Linked DNA regions of Homo sapiens: all the other regions are linked to region 1. Evidence: promoter capture Hi-C in 16 types of primary human blood cells and fetal thymus (Javierre and others, 2016). All regions are on one chromosome and are shown on one strand. Each heading gives the region's core, a stretch centred on a gene start or on the middle of the fragment in contact. The rest is flanking DNA. Distances are from core to core; before and after follow the strand shown. Region 1 holds the start of SCAMP5 (secretory carrier membrane protein 5). Region 2 overlaps EDC3 (enhancer of mRNA decapping 3). Region 3 overlaps MAN2C1 (mannosidase alpha class 2C member 1). Region 4 has its middle 16 kb from the start of COMMD4.

Region 1 (2,780 bases), core at 145-2,644:
ATTGGCTGCTCTCCACAGCTCTGTAAATCAGCCTTGGCTTGCATTATAGCAGGGAGAGACAGCATGTGGGTCAACCAGGGACAGGACTGACACAGAACCCAGTTGTCCTGCCCCGAAGCCCAGGACCCTTCCTTCCTGGTTGGCCTGGTGGCAGGATGATGCTTCCTGCTCAGCCCTTCCCAGGCACCGAGGCTCTCTCCCTCCTTTTCCCCTCTGCCACACTAGTTCTTGTCTGCCTTTTTTCACTGCCACCCCCTTTTCATGCCAGCTGTGGGAGTGAGGCCCCACTCCTGGCAGGATGGAGCCAGACAATGGGCCCTTATTCTAGGCAAAGAATCCCTGCAGTGTCTCCCACCCACTGAGGCCCCCTTCCAGGCCTAGGATGGTGTGGGTGGGGGGTGGAGGGTGGGTGTATGGTGTAGGGGAAGGAGCAATTGGCTGGCAGGACAGACAGTGGCCCTGGCCCTGCCTGTAGAGATCCCACGGAGGTTTACTATGTAAACACCAATCACAATAAAATCCTGTCTTCACTCCCAGCCCATCTCTCCAAGTGGGTCTCTCTCAACCCTCCAAAGCTCTGGGTTTTTAAACATTTACCCTTGCCTCTACTCTCTCTTGGTATTCATCTCTGCATATCACTGTCTCTTTCATTCCTTTTTCTGAGTCTCTTTCTTTTTCTAAGCCTCTCCTCTCTCTCTCTCTCTCTCTCTGCTCCTTTGCGTAATTTGTCTCTATTTCTTGCCTCTTTCTTGCTTCATTATGCTCCCTTACCTATCTTATCTTTCCATGTCTTTTTTCTCTCCAGGCCTTGAGCTCTCATCTCAGTCTCTCTCTCCGTGTGTCTCTGTCTCTGTTTGCAGCTCTTCTTTCTCGTCCTCCTATGTCGTCTTTCCGTGGATCTGTGTCCTTGCCTCTCTGAATATCATCTCCGATCTTCCGTCCTCTGTTCTCTCTTTCCCCCTGCGCCTGCAGATCTGAAGGACCTTCCGCAGTCACCACACTCTCCTGCTTTCAGCTCTTTCTCACTCCTTTCTGGCACGTCCCAGAGGCTCCTGGCATAGGTATAGGAGGTTATTCTCCCCAGTTTACAGATATGGAAGCTGAGGCTCTGGCTGCTGGTGCCAGGCTCCCATCTCTGGGTCTCTTCCTTCCACCTACACGCCAGGCTCTTGTCCCTGAGGTGCCCGTCAACCACCTGATCCGGCCGGGGCCCGGGAACTAGCACCTCGGACAGCTCCTGGAAGATGCCGGGGCGGCCGGGTCGTCCTTCTCGCGAGCTCAGGAGGAGCAGCCTTAGGAGCAGAGCGGAAGTCTCGCGAGAGTGACTGCTGCAGGCAGTGGCGGCGCGGGCGCGCGCAGAGACGGCCTCGGGCGCGCGCGCGCGCGCGCGCGCTCCCCGCCCCCAGCCCCGGAGCGGCTCGCGGCCGGCTCCGCGCCGCATCGCTCGGGTGCAGCGCAGCTCAGCGCAGCGCTGCGGCCTTTCGGCAGCCGAACGGCCGCGGCAGGTGAGTCTGGGCATGAAGGCTGGGAGGAGAGCTTTGAAGGGAAGCTGGGCGCGGGGCGAGAGGTGTGGGGGTCGCTGGCTGCAGCTTTGTTCCTCCTACACTTCACCTTTGGATGCAGGAAGAAGGCCGAACTGCTGGAGAGGTGGGAGTGGAGGTGACCTTTACTGTTTGGGGCTGGGGGAGAGCGCTCAGGGCGCACCCAGGCCCCCCGAGCCCCCCAAGCCCCCCCATTCCCATCTGTGGCTCCCGCAGAGGGAACTGGGCCTTTGGGTGACGTCAGACCCTGGATCTGGAGCCTGAGCTTTGGGCCCTCCATCCCCCCCGCCAGCCCCACCTGGCGTTCCCTGGAAACCGGCCTTCTGGAGATGGCGTGCGCAGCCGGGGATGGGGGCGACTGGAAGGGGGTGCCCGTGGCTTCCTTTGGGCCTTTCCTTCCAACTAGCGCCTGCAGGTGGACCCGGGTTGACTTCCCTCACCTCCCTCGGGCGGCCGACCTTTGGATGGCGGACCTCAGCCGCCCCAGGGTTGCGAGGCGACGGGCGCGCTGGCCCAGGCCACCAGGCGGGCTCCATCAGGGCTTTGGGTGGTGAGTTGGGGGCGCCGGATTTGGCTCATTTCAACGCTGGCCGGAGGTCACGAGGATGGAGGTGAGGTGTTTGTGAACCGATCCTTGTCCTCCGCCTCGGGGAGCTCCTGGTCTGTGGGTTGGGGGAACCAAGTAGAGACTCGGACTGAGCATTCACTGTCACAGGCGGCTTAAACAAGTAATGTCCCAGCTTCCCGATGGGGAGATCAGTGAGGGCCTGGCAGACTTTCCCAGGGACACAGAGAGAAAGGGAGGCGACAGCTAGCGAATAGGAGACTTCCAGAGGTGATGGGATTTGGGTGGGAGGAGAGGCAAGAGAGGGCATTCCAGGAGAATGTATGGGCAAAGGCACAGGGATGAAAACGAGCACAGCTGTTGGGGGCTGAGCCTGGGAGCTCAGCCATGTGACTGCCCATGGGGTGGTGGAGTCTGGAGAAATTTGCAACCTGTCCCCTACATGTTCTGCCTCACGGAGCAGGGCTCTGAAAGAGGGAGATGGTTCTTGCAGGGGCATGATTGGCAGAGAGATTTTGTTTGGGGCTACACAGGTCTTGCTAACTTAGGTTTGTTCTGGGCTTGGTGAGCCTTAGGGCAAAGTCTCTAGAGCTGAGAGGGGGCTGTCTCTGGTGAATGGGCCCCTGAAAGAGGGTCTTAGGTTTAGCAAACCCCTTGGAGAGTTAGTGGGGTCC
Region 2 (2,780 bases), core at 92-2,591, 360 kb before region 1:
GGCTTCTGTACCTCTCAGCCCCAGAGAACCTAAGGGAATCAGCCCACCGTGGCTAGCCAGGTGGGGTCTGGTTTTCCACAGCCTGCCAGTCCCATTACTGGCCAGGACTTTAGGCTGTATGTGCCCAACAACTATGGCCTGCTGAGGGCAGGAGACGAGTGGGGCGGGTTCCTAGGCTGGGACAGACAGCACCTCATGACAGCCTACAGAGCAAGTCACACGGCACAGGACTCAGTCAGTCATTCAGCTTTATTTCAGTGCTGGTTTTTGGTTCCCTAAGAGCTGCATGAGTGCTAGGCTTCACCACGTGACTGGGGGCCCCTTGGGAACTGGGTACTATGGGCAGGATGCCCCTGAAAAGAACTGAAGACAGAGGAATCATACTTCTCTTTAATACCTCTGGGGAAGGCCCAGGCTAAGGATGAGGGCAGGGACCAGTCCCAGTGCCCCCTGGGGAGAGAAGAGGGAGAAGCTTGGGCACAAACTCCCAGTGGCCCTGCAAGGCTATCATCCCTGGATCTTGCTGGAGTGGACAGTCTTCTGGGCCAGGGTTGTTCTAGCTTGTTTCTCACTGTACCTAATCAGGGGGCCTAACTGCATTAACAGGCAGCCAGAACCTACCTACCAAAAAGCCTGTAACCTAGACTGCTCCTCAGATTTTGGCCAAGAGAGGGCCCCGGCTTGGGAGCTGCTTGGCCCTGAGAGTGAGCAGAGGCTCAGAGAATACACAGCACAAGGGTTACAGTCCCTGGCCTCTTCCCATCGCTGGAGACAATTTAAGACTGAAGGGAAGATGAGAGGAGGGGCCAGCCCTCTACCCTGGCTCATCTGCTTCTGGCTATGTTCCTACAAGGGAAGTGATAACAGCCTGAAACCCGTGGTACCAGGGCCTACCCTATGTCCACAATCCTTGGTGAGCCCTTCTGTCCACCCATCCACCCGCTCAGCCAGCCTGGGCAGACACAGAGCAGAAGCAGCCTGAAGCCCTGAAGCAGGCTTAAACACAAGTCCTTGACAGGAATCCCTGCCAGGATTCCAGGCATAGATCCTGTTCTACCAGCCTCCAGGGCCTAGAGCTTGGCACCTTAGGATTTGAGCATCAGTGTGTTCCTATGGTTGGAACCCACACCAGCTAGCTCATCCAGAACTAGCCTCATTTTGCCATCTTTGAGACAGGGTGCTGGCCCCAAGCCTACTCATCTAGACTGGACAAATGTAAAAGGTTCAAAGCCCAGATGATGTAAGAGCTGGGGTGGAGCTCAAGCACGGGAGCCCATCTGCCTGCTCTGGGATGACAGCTGCAAAGGACCGTTTCAGGGGAAGGGCAGAGGGGATGAAAGAGTAGGTGGGGCATGTATGTGCGGGCAAAGGGCTGGAGGAGTGGTGGCCTAGGACAGAAGCACCAGGAAGCCTCTTCTGGTTCAGCACCAGGCTCCCCCAGGGATATCCCCATCTGAGGGGTCTGGCCCCAGACTAGGCAAAGGCTCAACCTGCTCAGCTTTGAGGGTGGGGGCGGGCACTGCTGGCAAGATGGGCACTGTGGTTCTACAGTAATATAACCTTATACTACCTGTGCTGAAGACGACAGAACAACATAAAATCCCAATACAGTAACACCATCCTAATGCCGCCCCCTTCCCTACCTCTGAGTGATGGAGGGAAAAGGAGGGAGAGATCCTTGGAAAAATCAGCATAAAACTTGGATCAGCTCAGGAGTAAGGGTCAAAACCCCCCAAATCAACTTGTGGGGCTAGGGGAAGGCCTGGTCTGTCACAGCCCTGGACATGAATGGAGAGTGCAGGTCTGCCCTCTGGTGGACAGCTGCCGTGCAGCTGGTTCTACAGAGGAAGGGCTGTCTGCGTGGGGAAAGCAGGGGAGACACAAAGCCACAAGCTCTGAAATAGAGCAGGTACAGGCCCCCAGACAGGACCTGGCCCACTCTTCAATGTGTGTGCCCAGGCCCAGTGGCTGTAAACCTGAAACACAGTCTTGAGAGCTGCCTACGGCTGTAAACAAAGGCCCACCTGGCCGTGCAGGGGGCTGAGGGTAGAGATGCCTGGAGTTGCTGCACGCTCAGCCTGCCACCCAGCCCGGAACCCAGTGGGAAAGACTTCCCTGGCTAAGAGCAAGTGACAGGTCAGTTTTAAGTAAGTTCTGTTCTCTCACAGAAGAAACAAACCCAAAAGAGAAAAAACTTTAACAAGGTCCATGAAGCTTCATATCCTTAAGGCGTTTGTTATCAGGAGCAGCAGGGGACAGCAGAGTCCTGCCTGCGCAGGAACCCTCTAAGCAGAGTGCAGTGGGATAACAAACTTGCAGCCAAAGGGCGAGTGGTAGTTGATGCCCACCTCCTGGAAGACCTGCTGGGGAATGCCAATGTCGCACAAATAGATACGGCCTGCGTGCTCCCCCAGTGGCAGAGGCAGGCCCAGTGCCAGTGACCATTTGGCATCAATGCCCTGTTCGACTTCATGCACAGGAGGGTCTATGCTGAGTACTGGTGCCCGGTTCTGGTTGGCCCAGGCCACAGCTGCCTTGTACCAGGGTTGATCGCGCAGGAAGACGTTCTCAGGGCAATCCAGGCAGTTGATGACCAGGTCCACAGGGCTAGTGGGCAGATCTGCAGGTGGAAAGAGTGCCATCTGAAAGTCCCTATGAGCAGAGAGCAGCCCAGGCTGGGACTAGGGCCCAGGTCACCCCAAGGGTGTCTTTGTTTTCCAGACACCACTCGAATGCCTCTCCAAAGGCTGGCCTTCTTAAAGCTGGGCCAGGGCACAGGC
Region 3 (2,780 bases), core at 144-2,643, 370 kb after region 1:
CTAGAGGATCCTACGAGAAGTAGCAGGGACTACCCTGCCCCTGCACAAACTTGATGTATACCTGGGAACAGAGGCATGGCTCCCAGGATGGAGCCAGCTGTCCTACCAGAGGTGCTACAGCCTCTCCTGACTCCCAGGCTGCAGTTCCTCCCTTACCAGCCCAGAACCTCTCACACCTTACCCTACATCTTGGCACAGCAGAGAAAGCCCTTGTTCTGTGATCCCAAAACTTCGGCTGCATCAGAATCAATACCTTCAGGAGCTTGTTAAAAATGTGGATTTCCCGTAAAACTCAGACACTGCAAACTTGTCCAGGAAGCCTCTCTGGAATCCCCCAACCCAGCTGGAGTAAGTACCTCTCCTGTGCTCTCCAGTGCCTCAGACTCCCCACCATTGTGACACCAACTCTGCCTGCTGAATCTGTCTCTGTAATCCTACCCTCAATATCTAGCATGGGCCCCATGAGGCATCAGATTTTGTTGAAAGAATAAATGAGGCTGGGCACGGTGGGTCATGCCTGTAATCCCAGCACTTTGGGAGGCCAAGGCAGGCGGATCACCTGAGGTCAGGAGTTTGAGACCAGCCTGGCCAACGTGGTGAAACCCCGTCTCTACTAAAAATACAAAAATTAACCAGGCATTGTGGTGGGTGCCTGTAATCCCAGCTACTAAGGAGGCTGAGGCAAGAGAATCGCCTGAACCCGGGAGGCAGAGGTTGCAGTGAGCCGAGATCACACCATTGCACTCCACCCTGGGTGACAAGAGTGAGACTCCGTCTCAAAAAAAAAAAAAGTGAATCCAAAGCAAGCAGAGCCCACAGTCCAGCCCCCCGGCCCCGTTTTACAGACGGGGAAAACGCAGGTCCAAGAGGAGCAAGAACTTGCTGAGCATCACACAGTGCTTCTAGGGCACATCCAGGTCTTCAAGGGCACTCCTGCTTCCCCAGCCAGCCCAACCAGCTGCTGTCCTACCTGTATCAATGTGGCAGTGCCCTGTGGCATGAATGGTGTGTTGGCTTTCACCCCCATGTTGGCCAAAGAACCTGGAGGCCAGGGCCTGGGCCACTGGGAAGGTCTCGGGCTGGGCAGGGTCACACACGTTCACCATCTGATTGGCTGTGTACAGGGCCTGGAAGCTGCGCTGGTTGTCCTTCCCGAGGCCCTGCAGCAGGGTTCTGCCCCTTAATCCCTTTTTCAAGCACAGCTTCCAGACCTAGGCTCCACTGATCTCAGGGCTCTCAGCAGAGCTCCCCTGACCCCCAACCCTTTTTCCCTGCTGGTCCCCCTGCTCAGCACCGTCTCCCTCCTCCCCTTCACATAGGAAAATTCTCTCAACCCTCAAGCAGGTGGAAACCCTCGTCCTACTCTGGATTCCCAGAGTCCCATTTATCTGACCCAAAGAACAACCTTCTTGGAGCAGGGCTCTAGAGGGTAGCAGGGGGTACAGGGGGTGTCAAGTACCTTGGCTATGCCCAGCAGCAGCTCCAGATCCACCAGGAGCATGTGGACATCCCGGTGGAACACAGCTAGCTCAGCCCGGCTCAGCTGGAACATCTTCTCAGGGTCAGGGGCTGCAATCATGCTTCCCTTCCCGGCCCCCAGGAGCCCATTGCAGGCTACTTCCACATAGAGAGTGAGGCTACAAAGATGGGGAGACAGCCTCAGGCTAAGGGACTGGCACAGTACTCCGGGGACTTGGGGAAGGGGCACCCAGGAGGCATCCAGCTGAGCCCAACCTGTCTGCTTCCAGGATCCACTACCCAGAGGATCCCACAGTGTGACAAGAGTGCATGTGGGAGGGTTGTGGTACAAACACCAGATGGATCCCATGTCTTGCTGTCAGAGAGAATAAGTAGCAAAGTTTGGAACCATGTAAAGTACGCTGCTGTTTAGTCTTATATTTCCAAAGTTGTCTTTGCAAAGCACTGCCTTGGTCTTGGAACCCTCTTTGCATATTAAAATCATGTTCGGATCTCCCAGGCTCAAACTTTTAGACCCAAGATCTAAAACCAACACGGCCAACATGGGCGGGCCATTCATTGGAGAACAGGCTGGGCTGTGGTGATGCCATACTTAGGCTTCAGAGAGCAAACACGACTTCCTTAGGGAGGCCTTCCTGACTCCACTTCGCTGCTAAGTCTAGAGCAAATTCCTCAGTGGAGTACCCAGGATTTCCTTCCAGAGCCCTCAGTTTTGTAATTATATGAGTGAATCTGTCTCCCTTTGTTGGCAAGGGCTATTTTATTCACCACCATACTCCCAGTGTCTGAAAGCATCTGAAACAGTGTCAATCTATATAAAATACATTCATAATGTCTAAGAAGTGTTTTTAATGGTGTCATAAAATGTCCATGTTATAACATGGAATGTAAGAAGTCAGGATACAATCTTAACTAGTAAAAACTATACCGGGATGAGCCGGGCACGGTGGCTCATTCCTGTAATCCCAGCACTTTGGGAGACTCAGGCAAGTGGATAGCCTGAGGTCAGCAGTTTGAGACCAGCCTGGCCAACAGAGTCAAACCCCGTCTCTACTAAAAATACAAAAAATTAGCTGGGCATGGTGGTGGGCACCTGTAATCTCAGCTAGTAGGGAGGCTGAGGCAGGAGAATTGCTTGAACCTGGGAGGCGGCGGTCGCAGTGAGCCGAGATCGTGCCATTGCACTCCAGCCTGGGTAACAAAAGCGAAACTCCGTCTCAAAAAAATCCAAAAAAACCCCCCCGAAAAAACAAAAAAAACTATGCCGGAAAGATACACCAAGAACATGAATACTGGGCCAG
Region 4 (2,780 bases), core at 154-2,653, 320 kb after region 1:
CGTGGCCACATGTAGAGGTTGCAGGATGTTGTTTACGTCTGTATCTTTTTTTTTTTTTTTTGAGACAGGCTCTCACTCTGTCGCCCCAAGTGGTGCCCTCTTGCCTCACTGCCACCTTCACTTTGTGGCCTCAAGCGATCCTCCCACCCCAGCCTCCCAAGGTGCTGGGATTACAGGTGTGAGCCACTGCACCCGGCCTAAAATTGTATCTTTCTTATTATCAGTGAAGTTAAACATTTTTTCCTGTGTGTCAGCGGCATTTGGGTTTCTTTTTCTTTGAACTTTCATATTTTTTTTTCCATTTTTCTTAGAATTTTTGGTCTTTGTCTTCTCTACTTTTAGAATAGAATGAATATGATATTAATCATACTTCGAATTGTGACCATGATAGAGTACCTGTATTGATGATGGTCTCCCAGCATAAACAACTACAAAGCTGGACAAAGTACATGAAGAAATTGTCTTCAGGCATTGGGCAATAGGCAGTTCCATGTACAATCTGAGAGAAGGGAATCACATGAAGTGACTGCTACATTTTTCTGGTGGGGAAAGTTTCTAAACCCTCAATGACAGCACGAGGAAGCAGAGTCCAAGCCAAGAGGATCAGTCTTGTTTGGTGAAGGAAACAGAGACTGGTGCTCAGGGCTGCTAAAATGTGTGTGGCAGAGTATCAGAAAGGACGGAGTTGCAGAGGAGAAGCCCCAGAAATCTTACAGAGGTTGCTGCAGGTCCTTGGCCAAATCCCAAACAATGAGTGTGCAGATTGAGGCTCTGCAAGGCCCAGCACAGAACAGCCGATGGGGAGCTGAAAGCTAAACAGCGATTTCAGTCACAGACTGCTGGAGATACATCTGAATTCTGGCTCAGCCAGAGTCTCCACTCTTGGAATCTCAGATCTTGATGAATATTCCAGACATTCACAGAGGGCCTAGAAGGCCATGCCTTGGGATTAAGGAAGATTCCCTGGGAATAAGGGCAAAACTGAAAAACAGGTCACCCTAACAAAGCCTAAAATGTACCCTTGACACACATGATCAAGTTAACCCACGAGTAATTTAATTCCCTGCCAAAATAAAACTCAACACTAGAGTAGGATAACATAACCCACATCTCTACAATGAAGGTTCACAACGTCCAACAGCTCAAGAAATACTAGATGTGTGAAAAAAGTGAGAAAATATATCCTAAAATTAAGAGAAACCCAGTCAATATGAACAGACCCACTGTGCATGGTGGCTCACGCCTGTAATCCCAGCACTTTGGGAGGCCAAGGCAAGTAGATCACTTGAGCTCAAGACTTCGAGACCAGCCTGGGCAACATGGCATAACCCCATCTCTACTAAAAATTCAGAAACGAGTTGGGTATGGTGGTGTGCAGGGGCCCATAACCCCCAGGCTGTGGACTGTACCCGTAGGTAACCTGGTAGGAACCAGGCTGCGCAGCAGGAGGTGAGTGGTGGACAGCGAGCATTACTGCCTGAGCTCCACCCGCCGTCAGATCAGCAGGCATTAGATTCTCATAGAAGCGTGAACCCTAATGTGAACTGCACATGCGAGGGATCTAAGTTTCACACTCTTTATGAGAATCTAATGCCTGATGATCTGAAGTGGAACAGTTTCATACCATAACCACCACCCCCAACCCCGTCTGTGGAAAAATTGTCTTCCACGAAACCAGCCAGGACTGCTGGTGGCACGTGCCTGTGGTCCCAGCTACTTGGAAGGCTGAGGTGGAAGGATGGCTTGAGCCTGGGAGGTGGAGGTTGCAGTGAGTTGAGATCATGCCGCTGCACTCCAGCCTGGACAACAGAGTGAGAACTTATCTCAAAGAAACAACAACAAAAAAAGGGCCAGGCATGGTGGCTCACACTTGTACTCCCAGCACTTTGGGAGGCTGAGGCAGGCAGATCACCAGGAATTCAAGACCAGCCAGATGAGGTGGAGGTTGGAGTGAGCCGAGATGGTGCCATTGCACTCCAGCCTGGGCTACAAGAGCAAAATTCTATCACACACACACACAAAAAAAAAGAGAGAAAGCAGACCCATAAATGGCTCACACATTGGAATTAGCAGGCAAGAGCTTTAAAGTAACTACATACATACATTAAAGAATTTAGAGAAATATCAACACCTGTGAAGATGGTGAAAAAAAAATTTAGAGAAATAAGTTTTAGTATAAGTATGTCCTAAATATGCATGGTACATACTTACTAAAAAATAGTTTATTTTTTATCAGAAATCTAAATTCAACTGGGTGTTCTATATCTTATCTGGCATCTCTACCCCAAAGCCAAGCAGGAGAGAATCCACAGTCTTATCTTCCAGCAGGTGACCTAGCCTAGGACAGGGCCTGGCCAGGGGCAATTGTGAATTGGATGGATTAGAGATGCCAGTCATTCAGTGTGTCAAAGGTTTGCCAGACCTGCATACAATCAACATTATTATTATTATTGTTATTTTAATGTTAAGATTTTATTTACAAAGATTTTTGTTGTACAGAAAGTAAAAATGCTGTTACAGTCCCAGTGTAACTGGTAGCCACAGATGGTTGACTCACCAATCACAGCTATCTACGCTACAGCAAGAGTCTCACACAAAAACCTAACAACACTTACAATTTTGTTGGGGTGAAGTCCCTAAGCTCGATGGTAGATTGGTAGATTACCAAGAGGGACTACATGGAGGAAGACGGAATGTCACAGGAACTATTCTTTGGCTCTTTGGGTGGGTGGGTGTCCTGGGGTTTGTATCAGCTACCTTTTTTTTTTTTTTTTTAACAG

Evidence for each region. Contacts are between HindIII fragments. The CHiCAGO score rates a contact against its expected background, and 5 or more counts as called.
Region 2: a contact is called between a fragment that was not itself captured here and the fragment with the promoter of SCAMP5 in region 1, in 1 of 17 cell types (naive B cells). The highest score is 6.0, in naive B cells.
Region 3: a fragment that was not itself captured here is called in contact with the fragment with the promoter of SCAMP5 in region 1 in 1 of 17 cell types (monocytes); the score reaches 5.7 in monocytes.
Region 4: a fragment that was not itself captured here is called in contact with the fragment with the promoter of SCAMP5 in region 1 in 1 of 17 cell types (neutrophils); the score reaches 8.0 in neutrophils.

The regions. Positions count from the first base shown.
Region 1 is chr15:74,994,169-74,996,948 of GRCh38, forward strand. It overlaps SCAMP5 (secretory carrier membrane protein 5), which reads left to right and starts at 1,395. Exons shown (of 7, transcript NM_138967.4): 1 at 1,395-1,505. The HindIII fragment of the contact is 14,301 bases long and covers 1-2,780 here.
Region 2 is chr15:74,630,327-74,633,106 of GRCh38, forward strand. It overlaps EDC3 (enhancer of mRNA decapping 3), which reads right to left. Exons shown (of 7, transcript NM_025083.5): 7 at 232-2,620. The coding sequence ends at 2,286. Among named protein-coding and RNA genes, the nearest start is that of CLK3, 16 kb to the left of the region's middle. RefSeq lists enhancers at 1,705-1,764, 1,825-1,974. The HindIII fragment of the contact is 1,742 bases long and covers 471-2,212 here.
Region 3 is chr15:75,363,029-75,365,808 of GRCh38, forward strand. It overlaps MAN2C1 (mannosidase alpha class 2C member 1), which reads right to left. Exons shown (of 26, transcript NM_006715.4): 5 at 1,460-1,637; 6 at 971-1,160. Among named protein-coding and RNA genes, the nearest start is that of MAN2C1, 4.2 kb to the right of the region's middle. The HindIII fragment of the contact is 8,016 bases long and covers 1-2,780 here.
Region 4 is chr15:75,318,928-75,321,707 of GRCh38, forward strand. It overlaps the pseudogene ANP32BP1. Among named protein-coding and RNA genes, the nearest start is that of COMMD4, 16 kb to the right of the region's middle. The HindIII fragment of the contact is 3,837 bases long and covers 1-2,780 here.